Regions from separate parts of the Homo sapiens genome. Here region 1 is linked to region 2. Evidence: promoter capture Hi-C in human tissues and cell types (Jung and others, 2019). All regions are on one chromosome and are shown on one strand. Each heading gives the region's core, a stretch centred on a gene start or on the middle of the fragment in contact. The rest is flanking DNA. Distances are from core to core; before and after follow the strand shown. Region 1 has its middle 58 kb from the start of LINC00221. Region 2 holds the start of TMEM121 (transmembrane protein 121).

The links. The method cuts DNA at HindIII sites, captures the fragments that hold promoters and counts their contacts. A contact is called where the count stands out against the background at its distance.
Region 1: a fragment that was not itself captured here is called in contact with the fragment with the promoter of TMEM121 in region 2 in 1 of the 25 tissues and cell types used here (lymphoblastoid cells).

The regions. Positions count from the first base shown.
Region 1 is chr14:106,537,033-106,543,680 of GRCh38, reverse strand. It overlaps IGH and IGHV3-48. Among named protein-coding and RNA genes, the nearest start is that of LINC00221, 58 kb to the right of the region's middle. The HindIII fragment of the contact is 5,443 bases long and covers 998-6,440 here.
Region 2 is chr14:105,521,137-105,528,766 of GRCh38, reverse strand. It overlaps TMEM121 (transmembrane protein 121), which reads right to left and starts at 2,184. Exons shown (of 2, transcript NM_025268.4): 1 at 2,114-2,184; 2 at 1-45. RefSeq lists a silencer at 317-526. The HindIII fragment of the contact is 20,488 bases long and covers 1-7,630 here.

The DNA of each region.
Region 1 (6,648 bases), core at 2,470-4,969, 1.0 Mb before region 2:
AGTATACATACATACATATATATACACTAATATTCAGGAAAATGCAAATTCATAATGAGATGTCTTTTCACCCTTCATCTCTGCTAGAAAGTTTGTTATCTGAAAAACAAATACATACATACATACTTATTAAAAGCTGGCCAGGATGCCTAGAAAGTAAAACTCATAGACCACTGGTGGAAATGTAAATTAGTGCAGCCATCAAGGGAAAAAAATAGAACTACCATATATTCCAGCAATCCAACTGCTAAGTATATATCTATTTAAATATTTAAAAGAAAAAACTAATATTGAAGAGATACCTGTACACCCATGTTTATTGCAGCACTAATCACAATTTCTAAGATATGAAATCAACATATGTGTCCATCAACAGATGAATGGATACATAAAATGTGATATATTTACACAATGGAATATTATTCAGCCTTAACAATGAAATTCTGCCATTTAAAGCAACATGGATGGAATGGGACACCACTATGTTGAGTGAAATGAGTCAGACACAGAAAAATAAATACCGCATTTCTCAGCGTTACTTCTAGAAGTAAATAGTAGAGTAGTGGTGATGAGATGCCAGGAATGAGAGAAGGCTGAGAGATAAGAAGAGGTTTGTTAACAAACACACAATTACAGGTAGACAGGAGGGATGTGCTCTAGTGTTCTACAGCACAGTAGGGTGACTACAGTTAACAATATATTGTACGTTTTCTGTTTACAAGAAGCCAGAAGAGAGAATTTTCTATGCTACCAACACAAATAAATGTTAGTGTCTGAACTGACGAATTTGCTCATTGTTCTGATTTTGGTCATACCAAGTGGCACACATGTATTCAAATATCACACTGTATCCCATAAACATAAGCAGTTATTATGTGCCAACTTTGAAAAATCCTTTAATTAAAAAGAATTATATTGGCGTACATTACAAATGATTCAACACAGAGACAGGAATAAATACCATTTTTCTTTGAAATAGTTAATTAACTAACAATGTAGTTACATTCATTTGCACCAAATCGTGTATTTGATAATGGTATGCATAGACAGAGTTATGCATAGGATAATATCTTTTAATTTTAGACTACTACTTAATACTATAAATATAAATAATTTTAAAACAACTAAGTAAAAAGAATAAAGCTGAGAAAATGTGTGTGTGGTGTGTGATGTGTGAGCTTTTTCTTGTGCACCACTGTGTCCTTGGTGGATGTGTGGTTCATGTGTTTGTTTTTATTTACTCTGTTTGGGGTTCTCTTTGCTTCTAGGATCTGTAGTTCAGTTTCTTTCACAAAATTGGGAACATTCTTCGCTATTATCTTTTTCAAATAGTTTCTGTGTATTTATAATTTCTCCTTCTCAGATTTAAAATATACACATACTATAATTTTGATATTAATGTTTAGTTTCTTTCTTCACTCTCTTTTCGTTTGCAATTTACTTTGTGAAATTTCTAGTGACATACTAATCACATGGTTTTATTGAAAAGCTGAGCCAGCTCTACTGAGGTGTGTGCCAAAAGATTGCTCGATGTTCATACAGCATTGCTTTTGATTTCTTACGCATTTCCATTTGATTTATTCTTAGTATTTTCATATTTCAGTTCCCTATCTATGTCCACGATTTCTTTAAGAGATTCTTGCATATGAATCATAGTTACTTTACATATCTTGTTTAATTAGATATTTATAATATCTGTTTCATCTACAAATCTCATGCTGATCATTTGTTTATTACGACTTTGGTACTTCTCATTAATGTATGTAATAATTGTTGATAGCCACAGATACTGGGATGGACAGTGGATACTGGCTTATTATTTCATTTTATGCATTTCTGCCTGTATTTGACCACACTTTACCTTTGCCAGGCCTTTACTGTGGAAGTATCTGTGAATCTTCTCAGAACTATATTTGACATTCACTTTTGCAGTGGACATCAAAGTTGAAGTCTGTTCTTCTGTGTCCACCAGAGACTTCAGATCCTCCAGTGATATCTTGTTTTTCTTTCCTGCTTGGCTTTGTCTCTTCACCTGTTCCCTCCTCCAGAGAATCATGTTCAGCTCCCTCAGGTGGATTTAAATGTTATTTAACTGACAATTGTGAAATTGGTGGAAAGCAATAGAATAAAGGGAGATTTTCTGACCTTTCCTGGGTTCATATTGTGAACATGAGTCTGGGTGTGACCTTCCCAATGTTTCTGAACTTCCTCCAGATGAGATGTTGGTCTGTGTGTTCTTGCTCTTTTCCCTGCTGTGGAGTCCTCTTGTTTTCCCCAGTTGTTCCCTCCCACAGCTCCAACGTTCTCTTTCGGTGTTATCACCTTACAGATTTGCTGACTAGAACTGCAGATTAAGGCTCTGATTAAATAAGAAGGAGGGGAGATACTTCTCAATGGAACTTAGGTGAAGACCTCTTTTCCCATCTCAGTTCCTAAGGGATTGCCCCAGTGCCCCTAAGATACTGGTTTTGGTGGCTTGCCCCTCCAGAATAATTTCTTTGTTCTCCAGTGGGGATATGGAAGGTGGGTCTGAACGCTTTTCAGAAGGGTGGGCACTTTTTCTCTCCTAGACAGACACAATGGGACAGAACAATTTTGGTGACTGTCCCCATTTTGGGGAAAAAGGATTCAATAGGATAGGAAAACTCTTCAGTCTGTGGTCCCTAAGAAATTCACCCTACAACACATTTACCACACTTGACTTCAAGCAATCCAATATATATGTGTGTTTTCATCTTGTAATAGCCTACATTTTACATGCCATACTCTGCCTCAGTTCAGCTCATACCCCAGCTTTGTTACTCTTTACAAGAACTTGCCTCTCCCTAGATTTCACATTTGCTGTTTATCTTAAAACTTCAAGTATCTAAAGTATTATTTTTAAAAAATGGCCAGTTGTGGTGGCTCACACCTGTAATCCCAACGCTTTGGGAGGCTGAGGTATGTGGATCACCTGAGGTCAGGAGTTTGAGACCACCCTGGCCAACATGGTAAAACCTGTCTCTACTAAAAATACAAAAAAAAAATAGCTTGGCATGGTGGCAGGCACCTGTAATCCCAGCTACTTGGGAGGCTGATACTGGAGAATAGCTTGAACCCAGGAGGCAGAGTTTGCAAGTCGTACCATTGCACTCCAGCCTGGGCGACAGAGTGAGACTCTGTCTCAAAAAAAAAAATTCCAAAATTCCAGCTCCTCTGTTTATCTATTTTTGTTGATACTGTTGTTGTAAAACATAAGTAAAATATATTATTCATCTATGTACATTTCCAAGCTGTGTAGAAGAATTTTTAATAAGACCCAGAGTAAAAAAAGAATGCAAATATGTAGGGGCCAGCCCTACAGGGTCTGTGGATCTTTCTCCCCATGTGCAGAGATGAGAGATCGTAGAAATAAAGGCACAAGACAAAGAGATAGAAGAAAAAACAGCCGGACCCAGGGGACCACTACCACCAAGACACAGACTAGAAGTGGCCCCGAATGCCTGGCTCCGCTGTTATTTATTGGATACAAGGCAAAAGGGGAAGGGTAAGGAGTGTGAGTCATCTGCAATGATTGATAAGGTCATGTGGGTCACGTGTCCACCAGACAGAGGGCACTTCCCTGTTTGGCAGCCGAGGCGGAGAGAGAGAGAGGACAGCTTAGGTCATTATTTATTCCATTCTCTTCTCAGAAAGATCAAAGACTTTAATACTTTCACTAATTCTGCTACTGCTATCTAGAGGGCGGAGCCAGGTGTACAGAGTGGAACATGAAAGTGAAACAGGAGTGTGACCGCTGAAGCACAGCATCACAGAGAGACGTTTAGGCCTCTGGAGGGCTGCGGGCAGGTTTGACTGATGTCAGGCCTTCCACAAGAGGTGGTGGAGCAGAGTCTTCTCTAACTCCCCCGGGGAAAGGGAGACTCCCTTTCCAGGTCTTCTAAGTAATGGGTAATGGGTGCCTTCCCAGGCACTGGCGCTACCGCTAGACCGAGGAGCCCTCTAGTGGCCCTGTCCGGGCGTGACAGAGGCTCACACTCCTGTCTTCTGGTCACTTCTCACTGTGTCCCTTCAGCTCCTATTGCTGTATGGCCTGGTTTTTCCTAGGTTATAATTGTAGAGCAAGGATTATTATAATGTTGGAATAAAGAGTAATGCTACAGACTGATGATTAATGATATTCATATATAATCATATCTATAACCTATTTCTAGTACAACTATTCTTATTTTACATATTCTCTTCATTACACTGGAACAGCTTGTGCCCTCAGTCTCTTGCCTCAGCACCTGGGTGGCTTGCCGCCCAGACAAATATTGTTAAGCTTCTTAATAGAAAAACAAATTATGGTAAATGTGTTCACTGGAATACTACCCGTCATTTATAATAAATTAATGCCTGATACACAGAGCAACAAGGTAAAATATCTAAGTATTTATGTTGAGTAAAATAAGCTAAACAAATAAGAATATATACTATGTAATTTCATTTTTATAAATTCTGATAAATAAAAATGCATCTGAAGTAAAATAATGAAGATAAGTAGTTGCCTGGGGTAATGGTAGAAGAAGGGAGGGGGAGAGGAGGAGGAATACAGCAGAACAAGGGGAAATGTTGAGAAGAATTCACTTGTCCACTTTCTTGGTAATGATAGCAGTTACATCATTTTTATTAGTTGTACATTTTAAATATGTGAAGTTTATTATCTTTCAATTAAGCCTCATAAAATGTCTTACAAGCAAACAAATGGAAACTTAGACAAGGAAAGAGTAATAGAAAGACAGAAAAAATAAGTTCAATGTCAGAAGTACCTGAAAATTAATGTGCCTGGATCCTAGTTCTCTCCATATTTTCAGAAGAGTGCTGGAGGGCAGCAAAACCACACATGCTCTTATTACGGAATGTGGGTTCTGATAAAAACACTAGACACATCCAGCTTTGTCCTGGAGTTGGTTTAGGGGGATGTCAGAGACAGTGATGAAGAGCACAGGGCCAGATACCGGGGTTCACTCATCCCAGACATGAGCTCCGAGACGCATACAGAGCCCCCCCATGTGTGGGTTTACTTCCACTTCTGTAAATGGAGAAAATATTGTCTCCTACAGAACATAGTTTACATGAATATTTAAAATGAAATAGGGTGATTAGTGCAAAGTGTTTATCACAGCACAATTTCATAATAAGACAGCATATTTTCCAAATGCAATCATTGCCAGCAAACTTCTACAGGGCACCGTCGTCTTATCTGGGTACAGCCTACTCCTCAAGGGTCCCACCCTAGAGCTTGCTATATAGTAGGAGATATGCAAATAGGGCCCTCCCTCTACTGATGAAAACCAACCCAACCCTGACCCTGCAGCTCTCAGAGAGGTGCCTTAGCCCTGGATTCCAAGGCATTTCCACTTGGTGATCAGCACTGAACACAGAGGACTCACCATGGAGTTGGGGCTGTGCTGGGTTTTCCTTGTTGCTATTTTAGAAGGTGATTCATGGAAAACTAGAGAGATTTAGTGTGTGTGGATATGAGTGAGAGAAACAGTGGATATGTGTGGCAGTTTCTGACCTTGGTGTCTCTTTGTTTGCAGGTGTCCAGTGTGAGGTGCAGCTGGTGGAGTCTGGGGGAGGCTTGGTACAGCCTGGAGGGTCCCTGAGACTCTCCTGTGCAGCCTCTGGATTCACCTTCAGTAGTTATGAAATGAACTGGGTCCGCCAGGCTCCAGGGAAGGGGCTGGAGTGGGTTTCATACATTAGTAGTAGTGGTAGTACCATATACTACGCAGACTCTGTGAAGGGCCGATTCACCATCTCCAGAGACAACGCCAAGAACTCACTGTATCTGCAAATGAACAGCCTGAGAGCCGAGGACACGGCTGTTTATTACTGTGCGAGAGACACAGTGAGGGGAAGTCAGTGTGAGCCCAGACACAAACCTCCCTGCAGGGGTCCCTTGGGACCACCAGGGGGCGACAGCACACTGAGCACGGGGCTGTCTCCAGGGCAGGTGCAGGTGCTGCTGAGGGCTGGCTTCCTGTGATGGCCTGGGGCGGCCTCATTGTCAAATTTCCCCGGGGAACTTCTCCAGATTTACAATCCTGTACTAATATTTGATGTCTCTAAATGCAACCTTTTTTTTCCTTTTTGTGTCTGTTTTTTTTTTTTAAAACAGGAGGACACATCCTCACCTCCACAGAAGCCACAGTGTCACTTTGGGGGCAGAAATAATCCTTTCGTGGTCAACAGGGTGAGAGTTTTGAGGAATCCCAGGGAAACCTGGGGAATGTTTTCCAATTAGACTCAGGGCAGAGACCTCCATGGGAATCTCTGATTAGAACAGGCTTTGAGTTCTGATGGGAGCCAAGAGAGAGGCTCACCCAGGGTCAGGGTTCTTAAAACCTGATGGTTTTCACAGCAATCCCCCTTCATCTTGTGAAACTGGGCACATCTGACTCAGACTGATTCAGTTGACCCTCTTTCTGCTAATCCATTTTCCTTCCCAGTAGACTTGATTCTCACAGATCCCTTTCTTCTTCTCTTTCCTGAAAACAGAGGATGTGTTTTCTGTAGTCTAAATTCCAAGGCTCAGGTCCGCAGGAGCTGGGTAGGCTGAGGGGTCTTCCTCACTCACTATTGCCTGGAAAATCCTGCTGTCTTCTGTGCATGGAGGCATTT
Region 2 (7,630 bases), core at 935-3,434:
CTCAGCCAGCGGGCATGGCGCGACACGGCCCGGCGAGCTCGAAACCTGGGGAGACCGGAGGAGACAAGATCAGGGTGCGGGCTGGAGCGGCCTCCCCCAACACCCCCCGCCCCCCGCACCCCGCGTGCTTCCCACCAGGCGCGGTCTCCGCGCCGGGGCCCCGAGGCATCGCGCACGCCTGCGCCCATGCGCGAACCGGCGGCCGCGAACCACAGCGAGGCCTCCAGAGGGCGCTGCTGCCTCGCCAGAGCACCCGGGCCTCGTTCCCGCCGCCAGGAAGGAAACGGAACGGACGCGTTTTCTGCCCGCCGAGCTCGTTCCCGGAGCCCGGGGGGGTTTGTCACTGCTGGGCCCGCGCCGCCCTCCCTCCTGGCTCCGGCGGCCCGGACCCCACGCCCGCGCTGCTGGCCTCAGGCCGTTTCCGCGGAGTTCCGGGAATACCCTCTCCCCGCCGCCGCACTGGGCAGGGAGGCGGGCCTGCCCCTCCGCTCTTGGAGTACCCAAGGAGGCCTCGGCCCTCCCAGGCTTTCTGATCCCGGACCGAGAGCCACCCAGGTCCCGATGCATCCGTCCCACAAGCCTCTCCGAGCCTCCCCGCCCCTGCCCGGCAGCCCCCACGCCCCTCCTCCCTGCACGGGCAGGCTCGGTCTCCCCTCCTGTCCACCATCCTGGGCGCGTGGCCACTGCCTGCCCTGCTCCCCATGGCTCCGCATTGCCTTGGCGAGGTGTTGTCCCCCACCCTCTGCCCCGGCAGAGCCACCCTGCTTTGCTCCTCTGCGCCAGGGCGATGCCTGTGGCTGCCCTCGAATCTCGGGAAGCCCGTCCACCAAGGCCCGTCGGGCTTCCACAGGCCCCTGCACCTCTGTCACACACCTGGCACTGGTCCTCATGGCCGTGCTGTCGGAGTCCCCGCACCTGGGCCTGTGCACACCTGGGTGACAATGGAGGCCCGCACACCCGCACCCACCCCAAAGTCACTGACAGGCTTACTCCCAGCCAGCCCCTCACCCCCTCCACAGCCCCAGGCCTGGGGCTCCGTTTACTGCCGTGTCTAGACAAAGGCATAAAATTTAATGTCCCCGTGACAGTCGGGCGCTCGGACTGCCCTGGTGACACCGCAGGCCCCACCGATCCGGGAAAGCGTTGAACTCTGCACTCCCACCCCTGCCCCCACCCAGCACCCGCCGCCCAGGATCCCCACAGCCACACACAGGACACCCCCACCCCTCGGAGCTCTGACAGGTCGCGAGGAGGGTGCCTTGAGGGTCCTCAGCCCATGCCCCTGCCTCCAAGCCTCCCCGCGCTCTGGGTCCCACCGGGACACTCACCCGGTTTTCACGTCCACTGGATCTACACGTCTGACCCAGGAAGCCCTCTCTGGGCCCATTCCAGGCCCACCTGGGCCTCCCCTAGCTGCAGCCGCAGCCTGAGAATTTCCTCCCTCTCCGCGCGTGGCGGGGCCAAATAAATAGCGGGGGAGCCACGGCGCCGCTCACCCTTTCCGGCCGTGCCTCCAGCCCCTCCGCCCCACTACGCTGTCGCTCGATCCTCAGTCACTTGGCAGATGCGGGCCGAGGGGCTCTGCGCTGGCGAAGGGACGGACTCCAGCCCCTAGCGGAGCCCCTACCCCGGCAAGCCAGAGCCCGGCCCGGCCACCTCTCCGTAGGGACCTGGCCCCAGGCCCACCTGTCCTGGGTCTCCTGGGCCCCGGCCGAGGCCCCTCCTCCCCCCACGCCCCGCGGCTCAGACCTGGCACAGACTCTGGGGCCTCCAGGCCCTTCACTGCCCGGGCCCCGCAAGGACCCTCGCCCCATAACCACCCCTCGGAGCCCCCGGGAGGAGGGGCGGGAGGGGGCTGCTGTGCTCCCGCCGCGGGCCGGTGCAGAGCTTGGGCCGCTCCCAGCAGGCTGCGTCTCTGCTTGTCCCCCCGAGGCTTCCCCACGCAGGGCCGGGTCCCCGTCACCCCGCCGGCCCCAGGCCTCACCCCTGCCGCATCGGCCCCCGCCCCACCCCACAGTCCCCACGGCCCAGAGGTGCAGGGTCGCCCAGGCCCGCCGCCCCCTCCGCGGACGCAGCCGCGCACCCAGCCAGTCCCGCCCGCGCCCGCGCCTACCCCGCCGCCCGCAGATGCTGCGCCGCTCCCGGGCCCGCCCGCCCAGCCTCTGCCGCCACTGCCGGGGCCGCGCCGGCTCCTCCCGCCGCGCCCCTCCCCCGCCCGCGCGGCACCGCCCCCGACCCAGAGGCCCCGCCCCGCGCCCCTCGGCCCGCGAGCCCCGCCGGACCTGGGGACCTGGGAGCGCGGGGGTGCCGGTGCCCCGCCCCCTCCGCAGCGCCGGTTGCCACGGCGACAGCACCGCGCGGCGGCGCGCAGGACTGGTGGCTCTGGGGAGCGGGGCGCCCTCGCGCACCCCCAGGCGCGGAGTCCCGTCTCCACCCTCCTCACCCACCGCCCAGAATCCCAGGGTCCCGCCCAGTGCCCCCCGCGCCCTGAAACTCCGCTGCCGCCCCCTAGAGCGACCCCACTCAGCCGGACAGGCGCCCACCGGCCCAGGAGCTGACAGGGATGTAGGCGCGGGGCTGGCCTGGCCGCCGGGGCCCTCCGCGCCACCCTCTGTCCTCTTTGGGGAGAAACCCAGCCTTCCCAGGTTTCTTCTCAGGGCAGAGGAAAGGAATGATGAGCGGCCCCCACCTTCTTCTCCAGCCCGTCCAGGAGGCAAGCTAGGGTTTGGGGACTTGGGCTTCATTTTGTCACTGAGGTGGCACTAAGCCCCTCCCCCCACATCCTGTCCATCCCGTGTGAGCCAGAGAAGAACCCGAGGGCACCTTCTGCCTGCCTGCCCTCCTTCCCAGAACTGCTGTGACTTCCCTCTGACATAGGAGGAGACTGAGGGTCAGAGAGGTAAAGGGACACCAGATTTGGTGGAAAGACCAGAATTTGAGGCACCACCCAACTGGTAGTGAACTTCCAGATTCTCTTCCCGTATCCCCGGGCCTGGACTCAACACGGCCTGAAAGCCAGAAGAGGACAGAGAGCTCCAGAAGTTCTCTAGTCCTGGCACAAGGGGAGGAAAGAAAAAGGTCGCCTAATGCTCCCAGGGTGCAGGAGAATGCCCGGGGGGATGTTAGGGTTTGGGAGGATGGGGTTTTTTGGTAGTGGTTGTTTTTTTACTCTTCTCCATTCTCTGATGCCCCAGCCCCTAGGTATCCCACCAAAGCCATGACCAAGGCATAGGGTTTACAAGCACCTAAAACGCTGAGGCAGAAGAGCCTTCCTTTCCAGCCCCAGGAGATGTGGTCCCCTGTCGCTGGAGAGATGGTGGGCAGGGAGAAGCAGTAGAAAGCAATCCATGGGCTGGGCGTGGTGGCTCACACCTGTAATTCCAGCACTTTGGGAGGCCGATGTGGGCGGATTACCTGAGGTCGGGAGTTCGAGACCAGCCTGGCCAACATGGTGAAACCCCCATCTCTACTAAAAATATAAAAATTAGCCGGGCGTGGTGGCACACACCTGTAATCCCAGCTACTCGGGAGGCTGAAGCAGGAGAATTGCTTGAGTCCGGGAGATGGAGGTTGCAGTGAGCCGAGATCTTGCCACTGCACTCCAGCCTGGGCAACAGAGTGAGACTCTGTCTCAAAAAAAAAAAAAAAAAAAAAGCAACCCCAGGAAGTTGTGCAAGCCATACATGATGTACAAGTCTAAACCCTCATTCACATCCCAAAGGCTGAGAACTGAACAAAAGGACAGCCCACTGCCCACGTCCCACACTGGCCACTGGGCAGTGCATACGAAGGACAGATCTGAGTCCCACTGCAAAGGCTTTGAAAACAAAACCGACATGGAAGGCAGGACCCACAGGAGCCTATTTGAACTTGTGGCCTGAAACCAACTAGGTTGATTGCATGATAAAACAAAATGCCAACATTCTCAATGGGATTTAAATAAGACCAGTCTCATAACATAATGTCTAAATGTGCAGGAGACAATCTAAAATTACTCTGCATGTGAAGAATCAGGAAATCCAACCTGCAAGAGAAAAGACAATCAACAGCCGCCAATGCCAACATGACACAAAAACCCTCAACTAATTATCAGCAAATAGAATCAAGCAGCATTAAAAACACACACACACAAATACCCCAACCAAATGGAGGCTATCCCAGAAAGGCAAGGCTGGTTCAACATGTGAAAATAAATCGATGTGATCCACCATATTAGTCTCAAGAAGAAAACCATGTGATCATCTCAATCAATTCAAAGAAAGTATTTGACGGAATTCAACACTCATCCCTGATAAACACTCTCAGCAAACTAGAAAGCAAAGGGAACATGCTTAATCTCATAAAAGGAATCTACAAAAAGCAACAACAAAAACAACAGGCCAGGCATGGTGGCTCACCCCTGCAATCTCAACATTTTGGGAGGCCAGGAGTTCAAGACCAGCCCGGGCAACATGGAGAGATTCCATATCTGTTATTTTTAATTAAAAAAAAAATTAGGCCAGGCACTGTGGCTCATGCCTCTAATACCAGCATTTTGGGAGGCCAAAGTGGGCGGATTGCTTGAGCTTGAGTTCAAGACCAGCCTGGGAAACATGGTGAAACCCTGTCTCTACAAAAAATACAAAACAATCTGGCCGGATGTGGTGGCTCACGCCTGTAATCCCAGCACTTTGGGAGGCCAAGGCAGGCAGATCACCTGAGCTCAGGAGTTCTATGCCAGCCTGGGCAACATGGCGAAACACCATCTCTACTTAAAACACACACACACACACACACACATTAGCAGGGTACAGTGACACACACCTGTAATCCCAGCTACTCAGGAGGCTGAGGCATGAGAATCGCTTGAACTTGGGAGGCAGAGGTTGCAGTGAACTAAGATCGCACCACTGCACTCCAGTGTGGGCAACAGAGGAAGACCCTGTCCAAAAAAGAAAAAAAAAAAAAAAAAAAACCTCTGCATCTAATGTGATACTTAATAATGAAGGACTAAATGCTGAGCCCTAAGATCAGGAACAAGGTAAAGATGTCCACTCTATTCACTCCTGTTCCACAGTGTACTGGCAGTCCTAACCCATGCAATAAAACCAGAAAAATAAAAGGCATACAGATTAGAAAGGAAGAAATAAAGATGTCCCTATCCATAAATAACATAAAAGTCTATGTCGAAAATCCCAAGAATTTTACCAACAAAAAAGTCAGAATACTAATAAGTGAGTTTTGCAAGGTTGCAGGATGAAAACACAGAACTCAGTCCTGTTTCTATATATTAGCAATGAACAATTGAAAACCAAAATTTTTAAAAGCAATGCTATTTAAAATGGTCCCCCAGTAAATTTATTCGTTTGGTATTAATCTAACAAGACTGGTACAGGATTTGTATACTGAAAACTACCAAATGCTGATAAAAGAAATCAAAGAAGGCCTAAATATGTGAGAGGCATGCTGTGTTCCTGAATTAGAACAAATATAGTTAAGATACCAATTCTCTCCAAAACGACTACGGATTTAATGCAATTTCAATTAAAATTCCTGTCGGAAATTTTATAGGTATAGAAAACCTTGTTCTGAAATGTATATAGAAATGAAAAGCAACTAGTTGCCAAAATAATTCTGAAAAAGAAGGGAAAAAGTTGGAGGGTTCTCACGAATGGATGTTTTTGTTGTTGTTGTTTTTGTTTTTTTGGGTTTTTTTTTTTTTTGAGACTGAGTCTCGCTCTGTAGCCCAGGCTGGAGTGCAGTGGCATGATCTTGGCTCACTGGAAGCTCTGCCTCCTGGGTTCATGCCATTCTCCTGCCTCAGCCTCCCGAGTAGCTGGGACTACAGGCGGCCGCCACCACGCCCGGCTAATTTTTTGTATTTTTAGTAGAGACGGAGTTTCACTGTGTTAGCCAAGATGATCTCGATCTCCTGACCTCGTGATCCACCCACCTCAGCCTCCCAAAGTGCTGGGATTACAGGTGTGAGCCACCGTGCCCAGCCATCACTAATGGATGTTAACTCACCATAAAGCTAAAGCAATTGAGACAGGCTGAATTGGCAGAGGGTCAGCCGACAGATCAATGGAACAAGTGCACCCACACAAGCATGGCCATTGATTCTTTAACAGATTTATTGAAATATAATTCAAATACCATAAAATTCATCCATTTAAAGGGTACAATTCAGGCCAGGCGCAGTGGCTCACACTTGTAATCCCAGCACCTTGGGAGGCCGAGGCAGGTGATCACCTGAGGTCAGGAGTTCAAGACCAGCCTGGCCAACACGGTGAAACCTCACCTCTACTAAAAACACACACACACACACACACAAAAATTAGCCAGGCGTGATGACCCACGCCTGTAGTCCCAGCTACTTGGGAGGCTAAGGCAAGAGAATCGCTTGAACCCAGGAGACGGAGGTTGCAGTGAGCCGAGATCATGCCACTGCACGCCAGCCTGGGCAACAGAGCAAGACTCTGTCTCAAAATAAATAAATAAATAAATAAAGTGTACAATTCAGCCAGGCACAGTGGCTCACTCCTGTAATCCCAGCGCTTTGGGAGGCCAGGCAGGAGAACTGCTTGATCCCAAGAGTTCGATGCCAACCTAGGTAACATAGCAATACCTCGTCTCTACAAAAAACACAAAGGGTAGGTGGGCATGGTGGCGCATGCCTGTAGTCACAGCTATTTGGGGGGCTGAGGTGGGAGGATCGCTTGAACCTGGGAGGTTGAGGCTACAGTGAGCCGTGGGAGCTGGGGCAACAGAGTGAGACTCTGTCTCCAAAAGCAAAAGTGTACAGTCTGGGCACAGTGGCTCACGCCTGTGATCCCAGCACTTTGGGAGTCCAAGGAGGGCAGATGACTTGAGGTCAGGAGTTCGAGATCAGCCTGGCCAGCATGGTGAAACCTCGTCTCTACTAAAATACAAAAATTAGCTGGGCGTGGTGGCGCACACTTGTAATCCCAGCTGCTTGGGAGGCTGAGGCAGAAGGAGCCTAGCTTGAACCCAGGAGGCGGAGGTTGTAGTGAGCCGAGATGGCACCACTGCACTCCAGCCTGGGTGACAGAGCAAGATAAGAAGGAGAGAGACAGAGAGAGAGAGAGAGAGGGAGGCAGGGAGGGAGGGAGGGAGAGAGAGGGAGAGGGAGAGGGAGGGAGGGAGGGAGAGAGAGGGAGAGAGAGAAAGAAAGAAAGAAAGAAAGAAAGAAAGAAAGAAAGAAAGAAAGAAAGAAAGAAAGAAAGAGGAAGGAAAGGAAAGAGAGAGGAAGGGAGGAAGGAAGGAAGGAAAATTTTACACATGTCATAATCAATTTTAAAAGATTTTCATCATCCCCAGAGCCAGTAGCATTCGCCCCCCTTTCACACCCACCCAGAGCCAGTAGCATTCGCCCCCCTTTCACACCCACCCAGAGCCAGTAGCATTCGCCCCCCTTTCACACCCACCCAGAGCCAGTAGCATTCGCCCCCCTTTCACACCCACCCAGAGCCAGTAGCATTCGCCCCCTTTCACACCCACCCAGACCCAGTAGCATTCGCCCCCTTTCACACCCACCCAGAGCCAGTAGCATTCGCCCCCTTTCACACCCACCCAGACCCAGTAGCATTCGCCCCCCTTTCACACCCACCCAGACCCAGTAGCATTCGCC